2 separate regions of the Homo sapiens genome follow, and region 2 is linked to region 1. Evidence: promoter capture Hi-C in 16 types of primary human blood cells and fetal thymus (Javierre and others, 2016). All regions are on one chromosome and are shown on one strand. Each heading gives the region's core, a stretch centred on a gene start or on the middle of the fragment in contact. The rest is flanking DNA. Distances are from core to core; before and after follow the strand shown.

Evidence for each region. Contacts are between HindIII fragments. The CHiCAGO score rates a contact against its expected background, and 5 or more counts as called.
Region 2: a fragment that was not itself captured here is called in contact with the fragment with the promoter of DMTF1 in region 1 in 1 of 17 cell types (erythroblasts); the score reaches 6.6 in erythroblasts.

The regions. Positions count from the first base shown.
Region 1 is chr7:87,150,467-87,155,721 of GRCh38, reverse strand. DMTF1 (cyclin D binding myb like transcription factor 1) reads right to left here and starts at 3,269. Exons shown (of 18, transcript NM_001142327.2): 1 at 3,167-3,269. It overlaps DMTF1-AS1 (DMTF1 antisense RNA 1), which reads left to right and starts at 3,229. Exons shown (of 2, transcript NR_136253.1): 1 at 3,229-3,420; 2 at 4,064-4,299. RefSeq lists enhancers at 3,074-3,635, 3,481-3,720, 3,636-4,199. The HindIII fragment of the contact is 3,514 bases long and covers 1,974-5,255 here.
Region 2 is chr7:88,200,881-88,206,135 of GRCh38, reverse strand. SRI (sorcin) reads left to right here. Exons shown (of 8, transcript NM_003130.4): 8 at 1-1,021. ADAM22 (ADAM metallopeptidase domain 22) reads right to left here. Exons shown (of 32, transcript NM_001324418.2): 32 at 3,247-5,255. Among named protein-coding and RNA genes, the nearest start is that of SRI-AS1, 13 kb to the left of the region's middle. The HindIII fragment of the contact is 1,967 bases long and covers 267-2,233 here.

The DNA.
Region 1 (5,255 bases), core at 2,020-4,519:
CACGTTCCTCCTTTTATTTAAACTTATCTACCTTTATAGAATCAAAGCAAACACAAAATCTATTTGTGATTTCTATTACAGGAATTTTCTTCACAAAATGAAAGCACCATCAAGATAAACGGAGAAATGACATGAAAGTAAACAAACGCCACATACATTTGGTAACTATCCATATTTTATCTTTAATATTTGGCAATTACTTTAATAAAAATCATTTAGTTTACCACTTTCTCGGGTCTTCTTGTATCATTTGGAGACATAAAGGAGCTGCAATTGCAAAGCATTTAAAAGTATATCAATTCCTAGGAAATCCTTTCATATAGGAAAAATATGATGGTGGTAAGAAAAAAAATGGACTATTAAAATGGAAAACTCCATTTTGGAAAGGCAGAACACCACCTCAGTGTTAAATATGCAGTCTCTACATAAGATATAAAAAAAAGTAGAATGAACCCTCCTTAAACTTTGTTCCTTTCTAAGCTTTTGATGTCTTTGCAACAGACAGATGTGTGTTTAATACAAGTGATGCAAGACGTCAATACTTTCAAAAACACTTCTAAGCTCCCTCAATATTTTAACATCTATGTGCCAGGCAGTAAATCCTTAGGAATACTTGTTTCACATTATCCCATTCATCCTCACAGGTGTTAATTTAAGCCAATGCACTTAATGAAGCATGGCAAAGGCAACTGTTTAAAATAATGAGATGTTATTTTCAGGACATGTAAGTTTATTACACCATTAATAAAAATTAGAGTCTGTAGATTTTGGAGAGATAAATGAGGCTAATAGAAAGGTAAGATTTTTTGCGGAGGAGGTAAAGGCAAGTTTTTTGTTGTTATTTAAATACTAACCAGTGATATCAAACTAACCTTATAAAATACATACACTATCTCCCCACCTTTAAAGCACCCCTGGGGTGTAATGAGATAACTAAAGGATTGAAAAAAGAGATCTCTAAAAAAAGGACTAGAGGACAGCTATCTACTTTTGATATGAGTCTCCACCAGTAAACATTTCCCAACCATGCTGTTTTCAAAGCTCAAGTCATAACGCCCAAACTTTGATTTCTTCCCCTCAAAATACTTCTAAAACCTGAACACTCAGAAAAATGTTTACATAAAATAATGTATTCATATAACTGCAACGTATGAACTTAAAGTTCTAAGAAAGATGCAATGCCCAGTACTTACTGATTAAATGTTGATGAAGACAGGGCAATAGCATTTTGGCTCCACCATTAGCTCAACTGCAACCAATTAAAGAGATTCACGCAGAATATGCAGGTGCTAAATCAGTCCCCAAAAGCATATTTTGGGGTGAGCCTATCAACTAAAATAGTAAGAAAAAAAATTAGCTTGTTTGGTGGCATACAGAAGCACCTAGTATCGAGAGTTAAAATGAGATAAAAATCACCACAATCATGAAATGTATTTTTCACACCTGTAACATAATGGTTTTTTCCAGATACAATCAGGCTGGTTTTTGTGCTTTCTGTATGGAAGAAAAAAATTATTCTCACACCAAATTGGATTCTCTCAGCATGACAATTTTTGTAACGTTAAGGAATGTAGCTTTAACCTTTTTTCTCTAAATCTTAACAGAATTTCTAAATCCTAACCAAATACATGAAATCCTGTCTCTAAGTACACCATAAGAGCAAAAAGATAAGATTTTGGTGTATCGCCATAGTCATTCTTTAAATGTTAAAGTGATGGCAAATTATTCAAGTTATTAAAAGACAGTAATCCTCAGAAAGCTATTTGAAATATAATTTCAAAACCAGCTTAAAGAAATTTGAAGTAATGAAAAAACATGAAAACCCTTAACTGAAAAAAACAGATTTTGCAATACTTTCAACATAGTGGAAGAATATTTTCGTATTTGGAGCTTAAAAGCTACAAATGGTTTTCTCCCACGAATTAAAAATACAGGTATAATTTAAAATTTTCCAAATGGCGTCACTTTAAGCTTAAGACATGTCATATTAAAAAATAATTCCACAGAATATGCATTTTGTAGGACGTCCCAACATGCAGCCTCGACTGTCAGAAAGGAGGCACACATAATCAAATCCATGTACATTAAAAAGAGGTACACAAAGATGAATGAGTTGCGAAAAAAGCAACTACACAAATTCAATGAGAGAAAGGGAGGAGTCCTGACTCATACTGTATACTATTATCCTTTTCCTTATCTACACCGAGTATTTTATATAAAGACATATGCTCTATCATTCAATTGCACAAAAGGGCACTTGGCCACTTCTACTCTCAAATCTGCTCTGGAGATTGTGGTAAAACATTCTACATACCTCCCTGAAGAAATTCTCAAAGCGAAGTACATTTTAGAGAACAAAGTGGACTTAACAATTTTAAGAACTTTCTCGGAACTCGGCACAATAGGGTAATTACAACTTTACAGCCGCATTTTCCGTGCTCCACCAGGACTGTCCCCGCGCCCCAGCCCACATCCCTTCTTTAAAGAGAGTCAGACTGAGAGAGACGGTTCGGCCAGCTATCCCGATTCTCTATGTCTGGGCCGTGAATCGCCGAGCAAGGCTGAACCCCCGCAAAATTACAGAAGAATCTAAAGCGCAAACGAGGGAAAAGAACAAAAAAGCAAAGGGGGGGAAGTTGGGTCGAGACCCACCCCCACTCTCTCGACCCCACCCAAGCCTACCTCTCCTACGCTGGACCATAAAACAAAACCGAAAACGTAACAAAAATAAAAACTAAAAATAGAACACCACGAGAAAACAAGTAGGGCTTCCTTACTGTCTCCACTCCTTCTGGCCCAGTTCTCTACTCAACCTCCCGGCCCACCCCACCCCCCAGGGGTCCCGGCGCCATTTAGCTCCTCCGAAGCCGCCGCCATTTTCCGCCCCCGCCGGATCGCCGCTGTGCCTCGGCAGCCGCTCGCTTCCCTACTCTGCAGCCTGAGCCACGGGCACCGCCCGGCCCTAAGAGGGAGGCCCTGGCCGGAACGTGCGGGGACGGCAGCTGCAACGTCAGGAAGGCCAGGCTCCGACCCCGCCCGCAGTGCCCCGGCGCCGACAGCTTGCGCCAGCCGGCGGGAGCTAGCGGGCAGCAAGGGGGCCGGACAGGCTCCACTGGGCGGAGCGGCCCTGGCGGCGGTTGGAACCTGAAGGTTCCATCGCACTTACTTCCTGTTTTGGGTCCGGGCACTTTGGAAGAACCAGGATGGAAGCTCCAAAAAATACCAGGATGGAGGAAGCAGCCACGGGCGAGAGTGGCTGCAGCTGGAGTGAGCGAGCGCGACGAGCCACCGGAAACGGAGCTGCGGCCGCGCCCCGCCCCCAGCTCCCCGCACGCTGCCCCTCCCGCTCGTCTGTCCCGCTGGCGGCCCAGCGTGCTGGCTGTACGCGTCACTTCCGGCTGTGTCGGCGCGCGAAAAAAGGTCCTGGGTTGGAATGTTTGTACTGGTCTGTGGCGGTGGTTGTCGGCTGTCCTGCCAGGAAAACTCGGCACTGACTATCCCACTGCTGATGCTGTAAAAGAGGTCCTTCTGCTATGACGCAACTGTGGTTCCTCTGGTTCTGGGGACACTTAGGCCTCGCGTGCCGATTTTCATAGTTCCCTGTGGCTCCGAGCCGAGGGAGCCGCGGTGTGGAACGGAGGGAACCAGTGATCTCAGTGCTGAAGAAAACAGGGAGTGTGTGTCTTCATACTTGATTTGCCTTACCGCAGGGGCATAATATGAGATATCTGGGCGTGTTAAGTCGTTCTTGATGAAATGTGTCCTCTGTGAATGTAGTCTCACTGTTAGACTAGGAAGATGCTGTTTTGCTGTGCCCAGTTCCTCTTAAAAGTACAGATGCTCCTTGGGTTGCAGCCGTATAAACCCATCCTAAATAGAAAACGCGTTTTAATACCCTTATAAACGAAAAGGATAAATAAGCCTTTGGGTTCTGTAATGTGAGCCAGCATTCTTTGAGTGCGTATGTGACAGGTAAATGTTTTACGTATATTAAACTCATTTAATGTTCATAAGTTCTAAGTGCATCGCTACAATTATTACAAATGAATCCCATTTTACACAGGAACCAAAGAGAAGTGAAGGAATGTGTCCAAGGGCTCCCAAGTTGGCGGTGGAATTAGAATTGAAGCCTCAGCTCCAAAGCCTGTGTTCTGAACTACCCGGTTGCAGTTCACAAAATACACTTTGGCAGTACTTTCATAACGAAAACAAATGATTACAACCAGTTTACAAATGCTTTGCTTTACTGGAGGATCGACATGTTTGACTAATTTTCAAAAATAAATCTCAGAAGCAGCATTTTCTTGTGTTGATAACTTTATTACTAATTTGTGGCACTCTGCATTCTGTTGGAGTTAAGCCGTGTATCATTCCATTTTTTAATAAGTACATAATAATGTTTATGTAAGCAAAACTATGAGGCAGAATAGTATCGTGGTATGGACTCAGGCAGTCAGACCTGAGTGTGAATCTTGGCTCCATTTCTTAGTAGTGGATATGGCACTTCACCTCTTTTAGCTTTGTTTACTTTAGGAGTAATAAGATGTACCTTCCAGAATATTGTAGACAGCGTAGTTTGCATGGAATCTGACGTGTATTAAGCATTAAAAATGGTAACTAATAAACCTTAAAGCCAGGAAAGCAATACAACTACTCAAAGAGCAGTTCTAATAAAATAATAATTACATATGCAAAATTGTTGACATTAACATTGATAAGGTGGTTCCTAATGAGCCATATTTTTCATAAGACATAACCATATAGGATTATTTTTGCTAAGGCACAAAATAGTGATATATAAATTATAGTCGGGCTATCCATTCTCCTCTGCTAAATTTTAGGTCAGCCTGCACGCTGCTAACTCCCCGCAAAAAGTCAAGTGCATCCTCATAACTAAATTCTCCCTTTCTGGTTGAGTTTCTTTTATAACTACCTTTTCCCAAGTCAATTGGTATTTATTTGGGGATGACAAATGTATTTTAATATTAGCTTAATGCATAATTTAAAAAAATATAATAACGTCTCTATCCCTTTAGCTTGAATAATCAATGTAAAGACTATCCATAACACAACTTGATTCCTAGAGCAATTTTCTGCAGTTATACTTCTATGTTATCCGTACCTCATTATTTAGTCAATGTGTACCTAGGGAATGGATGAGGTTTTAAATATTATCCAAGGATTTACCTATTTAGGAATTAAATGTTTTGTAGAAAAATCATTAGAAGTATTTCTATCCTAAACAATAATTATTA
Region 2 (5,255 bases), core at 1-2,500, 1.1 Mb before region 1:
GACTACAGCTGTTATCTTTCCTCTCCTACAAAGAATACTCCACACATAAAAACTTAGGTAAATGACATAGACGCACTTGGGTGAAATAAAACAACAAAAAAGGTAATCCAGTAATCCACGTCAGGATTCACCTTAGAAGTTTAGCACACGCCCTTCAAAACCTGTTGAATAATTTGATTGGCAAATACTATCTGTCACCAAGTCCCTTTTTGTCATCTATTTAAACCTTTGTTAACTCTCCTTAAAAATCTTGTACATTATAAGCTTAACTATATAAAAAGAAAATTGATAGAAAAAGACTAAGGGAATATATGGAAATATTAACAATGTTTATTTTGGATGAATGGAATTCTAGATGACTTTAATTTTCTTTATATCAGTATTTTTCAGATTTTCTATATGCTTTCCTTTTAAAATCAGATTTTAGTTTTTAAAATACTGATACATCCATTTTGATATACCATGTATTCACACTTTAAAAAATACACATAGCAGAGTATCGGAAAGTATGTACCAAAACATTGATCTGGCTACCACTGGGAGTCAGGATCATGAGTTCATCTTCTTCCTTCTTACTGCTTTTCCAAACATTCTCCAGTAAGCAGGTACTACATTTATAATGGAAGGAATTTTTTAAAAAATTTTAAGCTGTACACTTTCAAGTAAGATCTGAATTCTAATGCTGGCTTGTGCCTCTTACTATGTGGTTTGGTCATTATAGATAATGCCCAGTTTCAGTTTCCCCATCTTTGAAAAGGAGATAATATGTTATCTCTTGGGAGTAGTTCTGAATATGAAGTGTGTTGATACAAGAAGCACTGACAATGTTTCTGTTTCTTAAATTTAAAACTGGCCTGGTTTGCCTTTTTTATCAAGAGAGCTTAACAGATAAAAAATGAAATTAGTCTATTTTCTACTTGCCAGCAGAGTATCTGTCTTATTTTAGGATGCAGTGTGAAACTTACCATTCAACTGAACAACTAGTTGTCAACTAATGAAAATAAAACATTTTCTCTAAGCATCTTTAGCCTCATTTCACTATTAATTTTTTAAAATATTGTTAAAATATATATTATTCAAACCTAACATATAACTATGGCAAGTTAGTTAGCCCAGGTTACATATCAGAATGTGAAGCAGCCTGCTATATATTACACAGTGACTATAGATTGCATCATCTCCGTATATTGTCTGTGAGGCCATAAAGCTCTGCTTGAGTCTGGGCTATCTAGAAAAGGGCCAAAAAGGGGCTCAGAGGATTAGGAGGCAGGGAGCTCACCTTCAGTGTCCTAGCACCTGCTGTTTGGTTTCAACTCACCAGGGTCCTCTGAGGAAATCATAGTTTAAGGAAATGGTAATTTCCTGGTTGAGGATAAGCAGTAGAGAAGGCCCTTGCTGAAGGATATGGGCCATATTTGAACAAGTCCCAAGGTGTGCTGCATCAGTTGTGGTTCTGAATTGGCTTTGGGGTGAATACAAAAGCATCCCTCTGACATTATATTAGTTTGTTCGCACACTGCTAAAGACATTACCCAAGACTGGGTAATTTACGAAGGAAAGAGGTTTGACTCACAGTTCCACATGGCTGGGGAGGCCTCAGGAAACTTACTTATAATTATGGCGGGAGGGGAAGCAGGCACCTTCTTCACAAGGCAGCAGGAGATGGAAATGCAAGCAGGGAAGTGCCAGATGCTTATAAAGCCATCAGATCTCATGAGAACTCACTATCACAAGAACATCATGGGGGAAACCGCCCCCATGATCCAATCCCTTCCCTCCCTCGATGTAAGGCTTACAGGTCCCTCCCTGGACACATGGGGATTACAATTCGAGATGAGATTTGGGTGGGGACACAGAGCCAAACCATATTAGACATCATTCAGTTAATTCCGTTTTAATTATTGATACCTCAAAACGAATCTCTTAATCTCCTCCCCTTCTGCTTTCACCCATTCTTTCCAAAAGCATGGAGCATAGTTTTCAGTATGTCCCTGCAGTTAGAAAAAGTTTCCTTCCCGTTGACAAATTTGATGTATTCATCTCCTTTAATTACAGCCAGTCTTCATTACAAGTGAAATCTCCTGTTGCCTTATTTCTATTTTATGTTGGGTTGTGTTTAATTCATTGTATACTTCTAGTGTAGCCTCACCCACTACTTTAAAATTATTTCCTGGTCTGTTTACTTTTTCTTAAAGAATCTAGTTGGAGCATGGTAAAGCTGTGAGCTCAAGCTTGAATACTTCAACTATTTGGAGAATTAAGCTCCTCAAATCACCCTCATTAGGATTTAATTTTATTTTGGAGATGTGTGCTTTACTCATGTGTTTCAAGAGATCCATGATTTATGAAGTACTTTTAACACATTTCGTGCACTTACTTCCATAGGAATGTGGCTGCTAGAGACCTGGTGCTTCCTGGGGATAGTTGGCGTAGATTTGCACCACAGCAGTCATATTAAATTAAAGCTCTTGCTTCTACTGAGCCAAACTGGAGTTTAGACTGTCCTTCAGCATGATGTTCCAGGTGGTACCATCAAGTCCACGAGCTGGCTGCCATCTGTGAACTAGACTTTGCTTTGGCTCAGCCGAGTTACTGTTTCAGTGTTCATCTAAATGACTTATTATATGACTAAAATATTATAAATGCAAGAAATGGAGCTATGTGTAATCACCATAAACTTTTAAAATCTCATACTAAATGTACAAACCCTTCATCAGTGACTTCCTTCTCTTTTTCTCACATTAAAACAATACCTTGACTACTTATAACTTATTAACTATGCAGCCTATGAACAGATGGCAAGGACCCCGCAAATGCCAGAATAATGACGGGTAGGTAAAATGCCTGCCTGGAAGATGAAAAAGCCAGGGTGGAACAGTTTTTAGGCAATGAACTCATGAGCCCATCCTAGGCTCAGTGCTTTAGAATGCAGCACAGGTGACCTTATTAACTAAGCACCACTGCCTGGTCTACAGGACAGGATATAGGAAATTGATCCTCATTAGGGTGAGAGAGGAAGTGCTTACAAGGAGAGGCAAATAGATAAATAAGTAAACTACCTCTGCCATCCAGATGAGGAAACTGCAACAAATCGAGCACTCAGGCTTTGCTAAAGGGTTGTATTTCTCATCATGTTAGTGACCCCTTCTGGGACACCAGTGAACAGGAAAGAAACAATCCCTTGACTGTACCCCTAACAAAGCTTCTGAAAGAGAAACTAGCTGGGAGAAAAAGAAGAGTCGTGCATCAAAATAACATAAATCTTTTATTGAAAGTCACTTTACTAATGTTACAATGGGAGTAACATAGAAAACCATGGTATCTTATTAGCTTCCGAAGTGAATACTAATAAAACTGTGCCAGAAATTTGAACCTTAAGTTACAGTGACCTTTAAAAACATCAAGATTTTGTTTACCTACAATGTAAGAACAATTTTATAACTTGAACAGCCATAAAACAAATCACACTTGCTCAGGAAAGCAGTTGCCATATACATTTCCATTGGTGTTTGCCATAACCCCAGTAATTATTAAAATAGCTTAACGAACCTGAAGTGCAGAGTAGCAGAGAAATGTTAAAATAATGCGAATCTAAGTATATACACATGATTACCTGATTACCAAAAGTGAAACCATGCTGCTATTAACACCTCCTCATGGGGTGGCTTCCACTATCTATAGATGCACATCACCTGTCAAAGGTGATAACCGTGGAAAACACTAGTGCCGACCTACTGCTGGCTAACATGTAAGCTACTATGTTTAGGTAAAACACCCCGTTTCTGAAAGAAGTTGTCTTTTGGGGGTGCTAGTTTGGAGGGGCAAGTCTTCCAGCAAGTTAAAAAAGGAGTACATGCTTATCTATCCTGAATAAGCCTTTTTTTAAAGCAGTTTTGCAGTTAGTGTAAAAAAAAAAGTTTTCCATACAAAACAAAGGTGTTGAGTCATTTTTGCCCTTTAAAAAGACTGGTTGTAGAATCAGAGTTTGATTTTGTGCTGGATTAGAAAAGAAAAGTGGGGTTTCTAGTCAGGCAGTGATACACATATATAATTTAGCAGGAACTTTTGTATTATTACTAAGTATTCATATCAGCATTTTCTGTATTGTGTTACTTGTTCAACTTAGCACCGCTATATTTAAAGATTGGGGCTATTTGCATTATTTTAGAGCTTAGCCATCCAACACAAATCACAGCCTGAAAATTCATAAAATAAGAGGCTAAGCCCTAAGGTGAATGCAGATCAGAATATTATATATATATAACATTTTTTACAAGAAAGGAAAATACCTTTTCTTCATAAACTCTTTGAAACTTTATTGATGATTCTGTATGTGCATTATCTTAAGAATTCGTCTCATTGTATGCCTTTTTGTAAAACAAAACCAAAAACACACATATTGCCTGGTTTTGATTTCAAGGATACGTAGGAACATGGAATGATGATTACTTGATGAAAAGCCTGCCAGCCTTGAAGCTTCCCCATATGATACAGGTTTTATGAACAGTGCAACAGGGATGCATCAGGCAGGAGTGACTGGCCTATTATGGACTGGACCACAAAGTATTCAGAGTCAACACTCAGTCAATCTGCCAAGCACAGAAGTCTGTCTTAGGCATCCAGCACCTCTCTTCCCACCACACCCCTTGTGACAATGTGTGCTCTCCTGCATATCTGGCCTCAGGAATCTTCCTGTGAATATCCATTCTGTGTCTATGCCAGGACTAAATGCCCCATGGTCTCCCAAAGTTCTCTGCTTCTTATCTCCTCCCCATCCTGAAATTCAGGCTTTTAGGACTCATCTCCCAGTGACTTCCTAAGTTGCATAAGCTGCTAATGTGCCAGTGGGTGAAGATAAAGATGCCTGCCACCTCTACTCCCTAGAGCATCCTAGGGATATAAAGGACAAAAGTACTAATTAGGTTTTTGGTTTTGAATGTTTTGTTTTTCTGCTTACAAACAACCAGAAGTTGCTCCATTTGCGGGACTAACAAAGCAATGAATAAAATGTCAGTAGAAACACTCCTGTTTTCTAAAGTCCTGCTGCATCTTTGTTCTGCATCCGCAGATGTGGGAGAAAAGCTCCTCTTGGAATTAAAAGCACCTCCCCCACAGAGCATATGCTATGAGCATGTGCCAACAATTCCCAGCAGGTGTACTTTTAACAGCGGGGCTACTCACACACAGCTGGGATGGGCTGCTGCCGCTCAGCCAATTTTCACAAGAGCAGACTGGGCCCCTCATTATATTATACT